2 separate regions of the Homo sapiens genome follow, and region 1 is linked to region 2. The links are contacts of gene promoters, found by promoter capture Hi-C in blood cells and fetal thymus (Javierre and others, 2016). All regions are on one chromosome and are shown on one strand. The core of a region is centred on a gene start or on the middle of the fragment in contact, and the rest is flanking DNA. Distances in the headings are between cores, read along the strand shown.

Region 1 (6,725 bases), core at 2,538-5,037, 92 kb after region 2:
CTCAGTATTCTCACCTAAAATATAGGGATCCAATACCTATTAACAGGGTTACTGTGAGAATTGAGTAAAGTCATGGGTGTGTGAGTAGTCTGAAATGTAAATCATTGTACAAATATGAGGTATAATAATAAGGTATAATTATTGTGGGCTTTTCTAAGTAAAGAACAATATTGTCAAATTATTTTTTTATTACTGTGTCTGTAAGAAGTATTAAAGGATGCTATATTTAAATCCTTTCTACTGGAATTGCTGAAAAGTATGAAGAGCTATCTGAATGTAAAATTGTGCCTTTAGTTTTACATGAGGAATAAAATGTGCAAAATCTCTTTTTTTTCGTTTAAATAGAAACAGAAAAGAATTTTTAGGATCAAACTCATGGTCAAAGTTTTTATCATCTAGGGAAGGTATTACATTTTTACCACCACTTAAAGTGCATTTGCTAAATTCTGTCCAACTTCCAAAAAATTCAATTAAATTTAAGCCATAATTACGTTCTCTTGATTTAAATATTGTTGAATGCATGCAATGTTATTTTTTGGTTCAGCTATTTCATTTTCACCAAATATTATTATTGAGCTATCTCATCTAAGGAAAGAGTGTATGGAGTTACTTACATTGTGAGTCATAGAGTTTTAGCAGTAGAAAGAACATTAAGGATTCTCCAACCCAATCCCCCATTTTACATTTGAAAAAGTAGAGCTCCTAGAAAGCTAAATGGCTTTCACTCATAGCCAGTGAGGTCAACAGCTGGGCAGGGCCTCCTGGTTTTTGGCTCCCAGTTCAGCCCAACCAGCTTAGTGATCATTCCAATATAGTCAAGTCTCTCAACACTGTATGTCTCCTTTATAAGGTCCCATGGATCCCTGGAGCAGAGTGTCCAGTGATACAGGAAATGAAAACTTAATAGTTTATTGTTAGATAACATCAGTGTCATTTTTCTATTGTATACTGAATATTCCTGTAGTTGAATTTTTAAAATGTTTACTTAGTTGAACTCGTCCTTTCTCTTTCTTTTGGTCCAAGTTGCATTGTCACTCCAGTGTTTCTCTTCTAACAATCAAGCTCCAGAATTCAAGACCAGAGCAATAAAAAGTCTCACTCTCAACTTTTCCTTTCAAGTTAGATTTATATCTTCATTTAGAAGGATACAAGAAGATATCTTTTACACTTTAAACCTTTATACTTACTTTTAGAGCAGCCCATGCCTTTGGCTTTTTGCTACAATTCTGTTTTGACCAACTATTCTTATTTTATTTTATTTTTAGAGATGGGGTTTTGCTCTGTCACCCAGGCTGGAGTGCAGTGGCACCATCGTGGCTCACTGCAGCCCCAAACTCCTGCACTCAAGCAGCCCTCCCACCTCAGCTTCCCAAGTAGCTGAGGCTATAGGCATGCACCACCACTTCAGGCTAGTTGTCTTATTTTTTGTAGAGATGGGGTCTTGCTCTGTTGACTAGGCTGGTCTCTTGGACCAAAACCTTGGCATCCTAAAGGGCTGGGATTATAGGCGTGAGCCATTGTGACTGGCCTGATCCACAATTCTTTGAAATCTCAAACATCTATCTTAGAGGCAGAAAAACAAACAAGCGAAGCAAACAACAAAACCTTGCAGTTGTGCTCCTGACTGTTTACAATGGTGTAAGAAACTAGCACTGTCCCATTTCATGGCTCCCATCAACACTACTTGTAATGTAGAAGACTCACACCCACCCCCAAAGAGCCCTGTGCTGGCTTCATCCTGCTTTTTCTCTGCAAGTGTTGGCTACTCTGGAAGGCCTTTGAATTATTTCACATGTGACAAAATCCATCATCAGCATCCTCTCTGATAAGGCCACCCTTCTCCTTTTCTGTTGTTCGTGACTTGTTCTTACTTTAAAGGATGCAGGGAGGTAGAATTTCTGTTTCTGCACCAGCTCTGGCATTTATTAGTCTTTATTGCCTTTAGCTCTGGCAAGCAGTGTTTTTAGCTCCATCCAGAGGCCTGCAAACAATAGGTACCTCATAAGTTTCACAAGGTCGTTACTAATGATTACCGCTCCTCAGCACCTTGGTTAGAGTTGATCAAGATTTGTTTTCCAAAAGAAAATGGCCTTTGATTAGGCATGGGCTGTGTTAAGTGCAGCTAAAAACAATAGGCCGATCCTTATTTTTAATGTTTTTATTACCAGTGAGTAAATGTTATTTTTGAAGTAAGACTCTACGTAAGTATTTTGAATGATCAATGTTCATGCAAGTTGGAAAAATGTAGCAGTGAACATACTTCTGACCATCACTTTTGCCATTTGAATCTGAAGCTTATATTTGCCTGCACTTTTGATCATTAAAAATAAACACTTGAAAAATAATTATGACTATCAGGTCAAAGTTTGCTAACATATTTCGACATTGTGTCAGTGAATAGAGAAGCCAAACAAAGGAAATATGGTAGAAAAAAAGGACTTTGAGTAGGAATCTAGGAAGAGCCTCTGTAACTTGCTGTGTGACCCTAAGCAACCTACTTCATCACTCTGAGTCTGTCTCTTTAAAGTGAGGCTGTTGACTGGATTAGCTGATAGAGCGCTTCTGGCATTAATTATCTATAATATTCTACATCTCTGTGGTTTTTTTACTTACTAGGAATTACTAGGTGTGGAGGGGTGAGATGGTTTTCATTTTGTTTCTGAATCAACAAGGTATATTGTTCATTTCTCATCATTTGAGACCATCTGTTTCATGACACTGCAGATTTACAGCCCATGTTTCAAGGCACCCACATTATCTATATTGCAAATGTGGAGGGTCACAGAATGTTTTTAATAAGTTAGAACCAAAACAGCAGGACCATTACATAAGCTTCTCAGAACAGGCATGTGTTAAAGAAACTAATCACAGAAGCTCAAGTCATAACATTAAGCAGAACCCAAAGAGGAATATTTACCCTCTATTGCAAACAGTCATTTTTAGTTGGCCCATGGTTGAGTGTAATGTTTCGATAATACGTTTAAAGGGCAGAGTTTGCAAGCTCCTGATGCACAGACTGTTATTAACATACATTTTTTCTTCTTTTATCGAAGTGATAAATTCTCCATGATTATTTTGTGATGTAGTCAGAGGGAAGTCATTGAATTTTTACAGTTTCACAATGCATGTGCTTTCCAAGACCCTGTAGAGCCATGGGACTTCATTTTGGTTTATAAGTAGGCAAAGGCGGAGTAAGAGGAAACTTGAGTAAAACTAATGTCAACAAAAAGAAAAAATTTGAAGGCTAAGGTTTTCTTTTATCTGAAATCAGGTTTAGTTTCAATGCAATTTCCTCTTTTGATCCTGCTGTCTGCAATAATGTCAGCAACCTTGAGTTTATTTATGGCTCCTTGGTATAATCTCACTGTGTGTGGAAGCCTGGTACCAGGCTTCCCTAAATACTTTGGTGATAAAGGTCAGTCCAGAGCAGAATTATGAGGGGAAGCAGCTATCTTTACTCTCTTCATTTGATTTAGCAGTTACATATAAACCCAGAGTTAGAAGTGGGCCTCTATAAAAGAGGAAGACTTAGAGGTGGATATGTAGATTTGTATTTTATAGACACACACACATATATATCTAAGTAGGCATTCAAATATGGCCTGGTAAGTTGAATTTAGGAAGAGATAGCTGAGCTCAAAATAGCAAAAATCAGAAGGATTATAATGACCATCAAATAGCAGTTTCCACTTGTATCTCCAGGTCTGCAATCAAGGCTAACACTCAGTCATAATCAATGAAAGAAAGTCAACAACACAAACGGGGTCTCCACATTCTTGAGTTTCTGACACTTTGGTTCTACACCCCCCTAGTAGGAAACTCAACTGACTCTCTTAAAATTTTGACTTAACAGTTGTGAAAACGTCTTAAATGATAGGGAATTTACCTAAACTTGGAGATCAAATATTAATTACAGCTGAAATAACACCCTTTACAGCCTGCTTTGTTTAGCAGCATCTTTCTTTTATCCATCAAAAATGATGAAGAGATATTTGTTTGGATTTTCAAATTCCATTTGCTCTGTTAAAACAGCATTGCAGCCAAAAGACTCTAATGAAAGTTTCCCTGTGACAAGCCTAAACAATGATCCAATAGGAATTAAAAACCAAACTAATGAGAAAATGATGTAAAAGGCCAGCTTTCTGCTCTCCCCACAAGGATTTTAATTACAGAGAAATCAACAGCTGTGCCAGGGGTAACACAGGCGTGCTGGCCATGCAAAATAACACCTTGGAAGGAATGAGTTTGAAGTAAATGGGCTGGAAATATTGGTTTTCCAAGCAATCAACAACAACACATGAGGGGCAATATAGAGCCTTTAATTTGGTTAAGTGTGCTGATCCCAAACTTAAGTATAGCAAATGAATTCCCACAAGTGTGTGGATACATGTGACCCTTGATTAAATGGAAAAATAATCTTCCACATACACTGCCAGTCACAAGACCTGGGAAAGCAAGATGAAGTCCAGCCCAGGAGGACTTCAAAACCCACTGTATATTTTCCCTATGTATGAAAGTAAGTGTTCTTCTGACCCTATCACTCACTGTAGGAATATAATGTTATTTCATATTGTTGTTTGTTTCCTGTACAGCTCACCTTATATAGAATATTTTGAACAAAAGTTTTTTCTCTCACTTCAGGAGGGCTTATATCTTTTTCTCCTCCTGCCCCTTTCTACATGAAGGTTATGGTTAAACTGAAATTACCTAAAACATGCTTTTATTAGTCAGCTCACTAATGAGAAGCTTAAATATATCCCTGGATACTAGAAATACTACTGTGTCAACCAATAAAGTAAACCAAAAACCAATCTCAAATAGGTTCAAAATAGTATAATAATGCAAATCCAAAGCAAATAGAAAATATTTTCAGTCTTTGTGATTAGACAATAACCTTGAGCTTTTATTACTTTTTTTTTCCATGAGTATTGTGTTACATTTGACCCATGACTTCAGTGTTCTATGACAGCGGTCCCCAACCTTTTTGGCACCAGGGACTGGTTTCCACCTACAGAGGTGGGGAAGATGATTTCGGGATGAAACTGTTCTCAGGCATTAGATTCTCATAAGGAGCACACAACCTAGATCACTTGCATGCATAGTTCACAATAGGGTTTGCGCTCTGAGAATCTAATGCCGCCGCTGATCTGACAGGAGGCAGAGCTCTGGCGGTAGTGCCCTCTTGCCTACAACTCACCTCCTGCTATGTGGCCTGGTTCCTAACAGGCCACGGACCGGTACAGGTCTGTGACCCTTAAGTTGGGGATCCCTGTTCTATGACACATCACAGAATGAAAGACAATCATTTTTGTTGAGGAAAGGAAATAAGCACTTCAGTTCACCAATTAGGGGTGTGGCAAGGTGCAGCTCTGTTTACTCACTCTGGACATTCTTTTCCTGGGGACAGGCAGCTGGACACGCTGACCATGTGGGATGACACAGCTCAGTCTCTCAGGGCTTCCTGCACAGGACGGCAGCTTTGGGAAGTGGAAAGAGCCAGTGGTTGGAGTCCCACTTGAGTTCAAAGTTCATTTAGCTCAGCTGTGTGATTCAAGTAGCTTGCTTAACCTTTCCGAGCCTTGTTTTGCTTAATTAAGCAACTTACCCGAGGTAGCCTTGTTAGAAGGTAGAAGAGCCAGCATTTGAATTTAAGGCTGTCTGACTTTAAGCCTGTGCTAACTTTATTTCTGTTTTCATGGTAAAGATGCATGTCTCACATGTAGCCAATATACAGAAGATTAAACATATATTGATTTCATTAGAAGGATCTACTTCCTTCCTGAATGCTTCGCAAAATTCTGGCTGCTGCACACTTTATAACAAGATAGTTCTGTGAGGCCATGGCTCTCAACCCTAACCGAGTGTTCTGTGGCTGTGTTCCACCTGCAGCTCTGCTCTGCTCCCATGCCCCCAGGTTCTTCTCTGTGCTGTGCCAATGCTAGAAACTGCTGAGGGAAAGAAAGTCTACATTTCAATGTAGAAGCCCCATCTTCAGAGTCAGTGATAATGGTCTCCTGATCTGCACAAAAAAAAAAACAAAAACAAAAAACAAAAGAACAAAAACAAAAACAAAAACAGGAAAACAGGGCTACATTCTGGCAGTGTTTTGTTTTTTTGTTTTTTTTTAATTTTTGAGACAGGGTCTTGGTCTTGCTCTATCACCCAAGCTGGAGTGCAGTGGAATGATCATGGCTCCCTGCAGCCTTGACTTCCAGGGCTCAGTGAATCCTCCCACCTCAGCCGCCTTAGTAGCAGGGACTACAGGCACGTGCCACCAAGCCTGGTAATATTTTTTATTTTTAGTAGAGACAAAGTCTCGCTCTGTTTCCCAGGCTGGTCTTGAACTCCTGGGCTCAAGCGATCCTCCCTCCTTGGCCCTACAAAGTGCTGGGATTATGGGTGAGAGTCACTGAGCCTGGCCTCTGGAAGTTTTTGTTTGTTTGTTTGTTGGTTGGTTTTTTTGCTCCCTTTCTTATTTTATTTTAGATTTGTATTGAAACTGTTTCTAAAGTCCTGGGTACCTCCTTCTTCCTTTGCTCCCCATGCTAAAGACTCAGAAAATATCTGGGATTCTATCTGTTGGCTATACATTGCTACTGCTGGAGCTGGAAGTCACCTCGATAGGCATTGCCTCCACTCAGCTGTCAGAAAAAAAAGTTTAGTATTCAGTAGACTAGACTTTCTGGGAAGGCAGTGACCATGTCTGGTTTTTCCCTATTTTTGGC
Region 2 (7,486 bases), core at 3,313-5,812:
GAAAATGTTAGAGTAGTTACATAGTTTAAAAAATGTTTAATAACACCAGGAAATACAAAGCTGCCTTGAGTCACTATGGAGAAGTGTGAATGTGTGAACACAGGGAAGAGATAGCATATACGGCAGGCTTCATGATTACTTTTCCTCTGATTATGTTTCCAGATTAGTTATCATCGGCCACCAGGAAATGTAAGCAAACATTGGCTGGCAGATTTTTAGCCCTAGGATACAAATCCATGTTTCTTCAGACAAGTCACCTTCTACACTGATCAACACAACACCTTATCCCACAAAGTCTGCTCTTCCTGTATTAACATTTATGCATGGTGATTTTTCCTCTACAGGCTTTTATTTACTTATCTGTTTCAGCTTTTTTCTTTCTTTGATTTTTTTTAACTTTGTAAAATTTGACTTTTGTTTTAAAATCTTACTGTATTTTTACAAACTCACCTTTAAGCCTTTACGTCAGGTATTTTTTTTTTTTTTTTTTTTTACTTAGGATTTTACCTCACCAAATGACCTTAGTACAAATCCCTCAGTGAGAATCAAGGTGTGTGCCTTGGTTTGGAAAGGAGGGAGTTGACACTGTGGAAGGCATAGGAATCTGAGAGGCAACTGTGAGCTGCAAGACTCCCTGCAACTCTCTGGGCTTCAGTGTTCTCACCTGTAAAATGAGGATGTGCCAATTAGATGATGTCTGTTAACTCAGCAAAAAATTACAAGATATAATTTTAGAAAAGGAGAGGCGGAGACAGGACTTTATTTCTCCTAAATGGTTGCAGCCTGCCAAGTGGCCAGCCCACAGGCTGGGAAGCATGCCTCTGGCCAAAGCCCAGAGACAGGCACTTTGAAAGAGGAAGAACTTTATACTGAACAGGCTGGCTCTCTGCACTTCTCTTCCTAGAGAATCTCCTGGCTGGCTCAGCGACTTCAGCTCTCTGCTCAGAAGTCATTTCCTCTGAAAAGTCTTCCCTGCTGACCCTCCTAAAGTAGACCCACCCCTCATTTACTCTTTAATGCCTCATCCTGTTTATTTCCTGCAATTAATTTAACACTTGCCTCAATCATTTTGGTAATCTTCCATTTTATACTTGTTTGCTGCCTATCTCCCCACATAAGAAAGCAAGCTCCTTGCAGAAAAAGACCTTGTCTGTCTTGCTCACCTGTGTATTCCCAGGGCCTAGTACAGTACCTGCCACATATGAATGATTAAATGACTGAAAGTCAGAGAAGAAAAACCTACAGCCTAAAATATCCAAAGGGAAAGAAAGCTGAGAGCAGTGTATTTCCACCTTAATCTTTCCCTTAAAATCACATAATCTGAGAGCTTGAAATAACCTTTCCACTTTGCAGTTTCAGGTACAATATCAAAAAACACCACCCACTGGTGGTTAATCATATAAGCAAGCTAGGAAAAAAATGGTCATGAAACAAAAAATGTAATGTAGTAAGGTGTCTGCTTAACTTTAAATTTTTATTGGATGTATACTTAATTTATGAGTTTTGAGTAACTAATATTAATTTTAATCTGCATAATACTTTGCAACCTAAAATGCCACATTTTCACTGAAGCATTCAACTGTGCTCCCGAGAAAACACAGCAAGCATTAGACAGGGTCTGGCACACAGCATGCAAAAAGTGTCAATTTCATTATTTTTCCTTATTCTGATTATTAGCAAATCACAATGTGTAAAAGTATGAATGAACTCAGGTCTCCTTTTTCTTCTCAAAAGCTTTCTAACTGACTCTTTTCGTTTTCTTGAGTTGTCACTATACAGATTTTTATACTGGAAAAAAAATCAGAGGCAACAGACCAGCAAAAAAGGATAATTGCCAAGGAAAAATCTAGTAGGACTAAGGTAAAGCCAGGGAATTAGGTGATTCTGCTGCAAAGACACCACCACTCTAGGAAGCACTGCACGAAAAGGGGTAGGACTAGAGGATTAAGAGGTACCACCAGCAAGAAAATCCCATCTCAACCTGGTGAATGTAATGAGGGTGGGGTTTCTAGCAAGATTCCCCAACCTCAGTCTGGATTAGATTCTCTGAATTTGAAATCAACAGATGGCTTGAATTGCAAGCACTTTTTAAAACAGGAGTGTTATACAAGCATATGTGTTATAAAAGTGTGGCAAAACATCTGTAATTTCCAACACATGTATTAAAAGTGGTATCTTCCAAAATTTGTTTAGAATAGAGAGCATAAAAACTTTTAAGTAAGGTTCTTAATGTAGCTGCTGATAAATCTCTCTTCTCAGATCCCTTGATTTATGTCCAGAATTAGGCCTAGTACAAGGTTACTTGGAAAATACCTAAGAATTGAGGGACTGTTTGCCTTCCATAAGCAGGTAAGGGATGCCTTGATACTCAGCTGCAGCCTCACAATTCAGCTAAAGTCTGCTGTTTGGCTTTAGCTTTGTCTTCGTCCTCAGATTTTGGAAGGAAAAGGAACTGAAGCTTGCTTTAAGGTCATTTCTGAGATCAACAAACCTGTCCATGACCTTGTGACTGAATATTTTGGGATCATAACTAAACATCGATAATAGTTTGGATTCATAGCAAACATCTGCACATTCACTTTGAAATACAGCGAAGCATTCTAAATATGATCTGGATGAAAATCTGTATGTGTTTTATTTATTAAAGTTAAACTGGCCAGGAAAAGATAAGCATTTATCATTGCAATAGTAAAGTGATGCAATAATATATGATGATTTTGGAAGCTGTTCATTTCATTGCATGCCCAAAAATAAAATACTTACAAAGAATCAAACACATGAAAAAAATAAACTGAAATTAATAAAAATCTCAAAAGAAAGTAGGTTGGCCAGCTGTTTCTAAAAATCTATATGGTAATATAAGGAAACAACAAGGATTATATAATAATTCTAATCTTTGCAGAGTTGTTTACAGTACTCTTCATAACATTAAATAAAATGATTTTTAAGATCTGTGTTTAATTTTTAAAGTAATTAAATTTAAGCCAGAAACCTTTAAGGAAGGTCTGTTTGAGAATTTTTCACATCTTTTAAGAATGAATTAAAAGGAGAATTTCAACTCTGTACAGACGTCATTTGGTGATGGTTGTATTTGGCCTTCAAAAAATGTTGATTTTAACATTTGGCCATTTGGCAACTATTCAATACACCTCTAATTCAGATAAATTATTTATTCCTGTTTTTAACATTTGAACATTCTCGCCAACTCCCACTTGAAAAAATAAATAAGTGGTTTATTTTCTCCAATTTTGCCCTGAAGGATGACTGGAGATCATGTTGTCAGTGGAGCCCTTTTTGGGGATTACTAGCACTTTCTACTACTCTTCACCAGCTCTTTAGGTCAGAGGCAAAGGGGAGAGGGTTATATGCAGATGAAAGGCACCCTAGTGTCTCTACTGCATCCTCTGAACCTCTTGTTAACATACCTTACCTGAACAAGCCTGTTCTTGCCCAAACCTCCATCTTACAAAATATCTACTAAGAAAAGGGGGCGAGGACGGCTAGGACGACTCTAACAAGTTATAATATTATAAGATCAAATCCAAAGAGCTGGACTTTTCCTGTGGCCTCTCTTCCTAGGCCTTTGCTTTCAACATCCAACACTTTCAGGCCCTTCCTGTACGAACTGAGCAATGTGCTTCCTCTCATCACATGCCTGTAACTTTCTGGCTGGAGAGATCGAACCGATGTTGGAGACAAATTAAAAAAAAAAAGAGCGGAGAAAAAAGGTATAGACACTCAAAGATCATCTGGTTGGCACCTCCCTGAAGGCACATATAATACATTCCAGAAGGAGGGAAGGAAATCCTGGGCGTATGAATGAGATTCTACGGCCTGCGTGGAGCGGCGCTCTGGGCTGCTCCTCCCATCCCCGCATGGAAAGTTAGGCGTTTCTAGCCACATTAATTCATCCTAAAGGAAAAGAGGCGACAGCGGAGCAGCGTGCGCGCGGGGGAAAACACCCGCCCACGCGTGCCTTCGCCAACGCAAAGACGCAGCTCACACCCGTAACCGAGGAAGAGGGAGGCTCCCGCCGCGCTCACTTCCTGCGGGAGAGAGGAAAGACATCTTGCGGCAGGGAGGCCGGTGGCAGTTCCGCCCCTGGACCGGCCGGCAGCGGAGCGCACCCCGCCGCCACCTACGTGGCGCTGCCTGCTCGGGTGGCGCAGCGAGTAAAGGCCACCCCCGCCGTGCCCCGCGGTCCCCGGCCTTCCCACGGACGCCTGGCCCGGCCCGGGCGAGGGGCGACCGGGGTGAAGCCCGCCGCGCCCCGGGCCCTGCGGCAGGGCGACTCCGGGAGGCACAGGGCGCGCGAGGTGCAGGGGCGCGCAGGCCGCCGCCGGGTCACCCACCTTTCGCACTCTGCGGGCCGTGTAGAGCCCCATGCCGTCCTGAACCCGGGAGGACTTCAGGGAGAACCTGTCCGGCACGTACATGCCCAGCATTTTCCCGGGCGCGGCGGCCGCCGCCTCTCTCAACACCGGCGCTTAGCGCCCGGCAGGCGGCACATCGAAATTTGGGGTGCCAGGGTAGAGGGGAGAAACCGGCAGGGAAGGAGGAAATGGAGTTTTCCTCCCAGAATCCCCACCTCCCTGCCGATTCCAGGATCCCCCGCGGCTCAGCCCCTCCTCGTCCCGGGTCGGGCTCGGCCCGGATCCGTTCCTGCCATTCCTGCTGCGGGGGCGCGGGGGGCGCGGGCCTGGGCGCTGCGGGCGCCGGGACGCCGCTCGCTGATTGGCCCGAAGTTGGCGGCTCTGACCCGCGCCCGGGCGCGAAGCCCGGAGCAGGGCTGACCCCAGGGCCTCAAACCCGGAGGCCCGCGAGCTGCGCGGGCCGTCAGCACCCCTAGCCCCGGCGCGGCGGCGTGCGTTCCCGCCTTTGTCCAGCTCTGGGTTTTCAAACCTTGCCCCGCTGAACCATTACTCCCTGTAGGGGAGTCTCGCTTGCTTCTCTTCAGATGCAAAACGAAATGGACCTTCACACAGCTGGGGCATCCTCCAAAACAACTTTATCAAGTTCCTGACTCTGAAAGCCAGCTTATTGCCGACTACTGAGAACGAACCCTGCGGTCTAGGAAATTTCCGTGCTTCTCACATTTGAGTTATGCGTCTTTGCTTTTTTTCACGTTTGTTGCAGAGGCTAGAACTTAATAAGGGATCGCAAAGTATGTTGATTAACGTACGGAAAAATATGTTGCAAACAATTTAATGTTTTAAGCACTAGAAACTAGATATTTTATGGTAACATAACCTCTGGGAAGTTCTTATACTTCTCAAGGTACAATATTCCTGAGACCTCCCTTGCTTGATAATCATTAGACGTATTACGGATTTTCAGACATACGGAAGTGGATTTGTGGGAGACAGGAGGGGACACCCAAACAATAGCATCTGGTGTCACAACAATGCAATAAAGTCACAAGTCTTGTTTTAGTGTTTTTAATAAGCTGTTAGGCTGTGCAGTGTGCCCAGGACCTTTAAAAGCCTGTTTCATCCTTCAAAGTGATCCTGGGGTCATCTACTCATTTCTCTTGATATTTATGGTAATTTTCTACTCTAGGGTCTTTTCTCGGAAACCATTTGATGTTCTTAATTGATGTTCTCATAAACCATTAAAAGCACACACAAAAGTTTGACAAAATTACAGACTACACACACACACCATGGAAACGATTCCTGTTTCTGCAGGAAACCCTTGGAACATAGTTCCTAAGCAGATTTTTTTTTTTTTTTTTTTTTGACAGGGTCTAGCTATGTCTCCCAGGTTGATCTTGAACTCCTGGGCTTAAGGGATCCTCCGGCGGCGTTGGCCTCCTGAAGTGCTGGGATTACACACTTGAGCTACCACACCCGGCCCCTATGTAGATTTTGATTCAAGTTTGGAAAAAGGTTTAAAAAACAAGAACAAAAGGCATTATGGGAAAAAAAAATCATGTAGTGGCAATATTCGGAGACTTTAAGGAACACAGTAAATGATGACATGATCCTCTTTCTAAGAAATGTAAGTTTAGCTTTCACAGCAGGGAGAGGAACACTTAGCCACTCTGTGAGTTTTGATACCTTTGACTTCCCATGGAAGATCTCTAACTTCTCTAGGGGAAAATAAATCAATAAAAACAAAAACTCTCTTTTGGGGGAATTGGGAGTTCCATGGCCTTGAAAAATAGTAGGTGTTCATTAAATATGTCTTGAATGAAAGTCACTTCTGAGGCTGATCTGAGATGTTCAAAAATTCTATGGTGAGCCTAGAATTTACTTGACTTTTTGTTGTGCTTCACAAGGAACTGGACTAAGTAGGTTTTCCAGGGTTCCTTAGAACCAGGGCTGAAACCATGCCAGACCAGATCCACTGGGCCCACAGTCCAGAAGGTGGGGCCCTGGCATTTTCCTGGAGCATTCAGCTCTTTGTCAAACACAGGCTTCCAGCCACCCTTAAGCCATCCAGGGCTCTCAGTCAAATGCTCTGCCACTGTCTCTTTGGGCACGAGAATTTCCACAGCTTTTGATCGCTGGAGAGGAAAACGTTTTTTGGTTTTAGTCTGAAACAATCCTTATTTAGGGATCCTTATTTAGGCATATCTCTCAAATATTTGGTTGCATGCTGTCTTTCTGGGGAGCAAGGCTGCAGCCTTGAGAATGCCCCTCTCTGAATGTAGGCTTCTTTACTAATTAGAAAATGGTGAAAGTATATAAATAAAATTTTAAAGATAAATCTGAAATCAATAAGATGAGAAACTTTCCAGATATTTTATGAAGCTTGGTCAGATATTTTTGTTACAATTGACACATTCAGTGTATTTCATTAAAGCATGCAATGTTCTTTTTTATCTATTTAATGGAGTGTTCTGAAGATCTACTAACTAAAACATAGGAACTAGCAATAAAAAGTTCTTAATAATAAGTTCCATTACAACACACAAAAAGGATACATGTTTGCCAAATCAAAATGCACAGTATTGACCGGATATTTGATTTTGAAGCCTGTAAGACAGTGATAGTACAATGAGTCATTTCTTAAAACTTTAAAAGCTAGAAAGCGACCTTTCAATATTATCTTTGAAAAACGGGAAATTAAAAGTCTGCTTTATATCAGGAGTTTAAATCCAGTCTTTAAAAAATAAATAACAAAATCAAAAAAATTGATATTAAAGTACTACCATGCACCTGATTTACTTATTCTAGAAAATATTGCACTGTCTTGACAAACAAGAAATTATTCAAAATACATTGTTCCTTACTTTCAGATTTGCTTTTGGAGGAATCTTTTTCATTGATATGTCTAAAGCAAGCTCTAGTTATTGCATTTAAACGTATGTACTTGAGTGGGCCTTGTTTTTAGGGAAGACTTGAATTATGACTGTATATTAATTAATTATTTTACCATACTGTCAGTATTTATACATACTGTCGAACTCTTTTAATTGTGCCTTGGTTATTGATGACTGATTCCAAGCACCATGGTAGACTAAAAGCCTGATTGATAGAAA

What was found. Contacts are between HindIII fragments. The CHiCAGO score rates a contact against its expected background, and 5 or more counts as called.
Region 1: a fragment that was not itself captured here is called in contact with the fragment with the promoter of PRDM5 in region 2 in 1 of 17 cell types (naive CD8 T cells); the score reaches 5.0 in naive CD8 T cells.

What each region holds. Positions count from the first base shown.
Region 1 is chr4:121,011,397-121,018,121 of GRCh38, forward strand. No RefSeq gene overlaps it. Among named protein-coding and RNA genes, the nearest start is that of NDNF-AS1, 57 kb to the right of the region's middle. The HindIII fragment of the contact is 1,914 bases long and covers 2,831-4,744 here.
Region 2 is chr4:120,918,164-120,925,649 of GRCh38, forward strand. It overlaps PRDM5 (PR/SET domain 5), which reads right to left and starts at 4,563. Exons shown (of 16, transcript NM_018699.4): 1 at 4,353-4,563. The coding sequence starts at 4,445. It overlaps LOC105377399 (a long non-coding RNA gene), which reads left to right and starts at 4,773. Exons shown (of 2, transcript XR_001741804.2): 1 at 4,773-5,164. The HindIII fragment of the contact is 4,297 bases long and covers 2,457-6,753 here.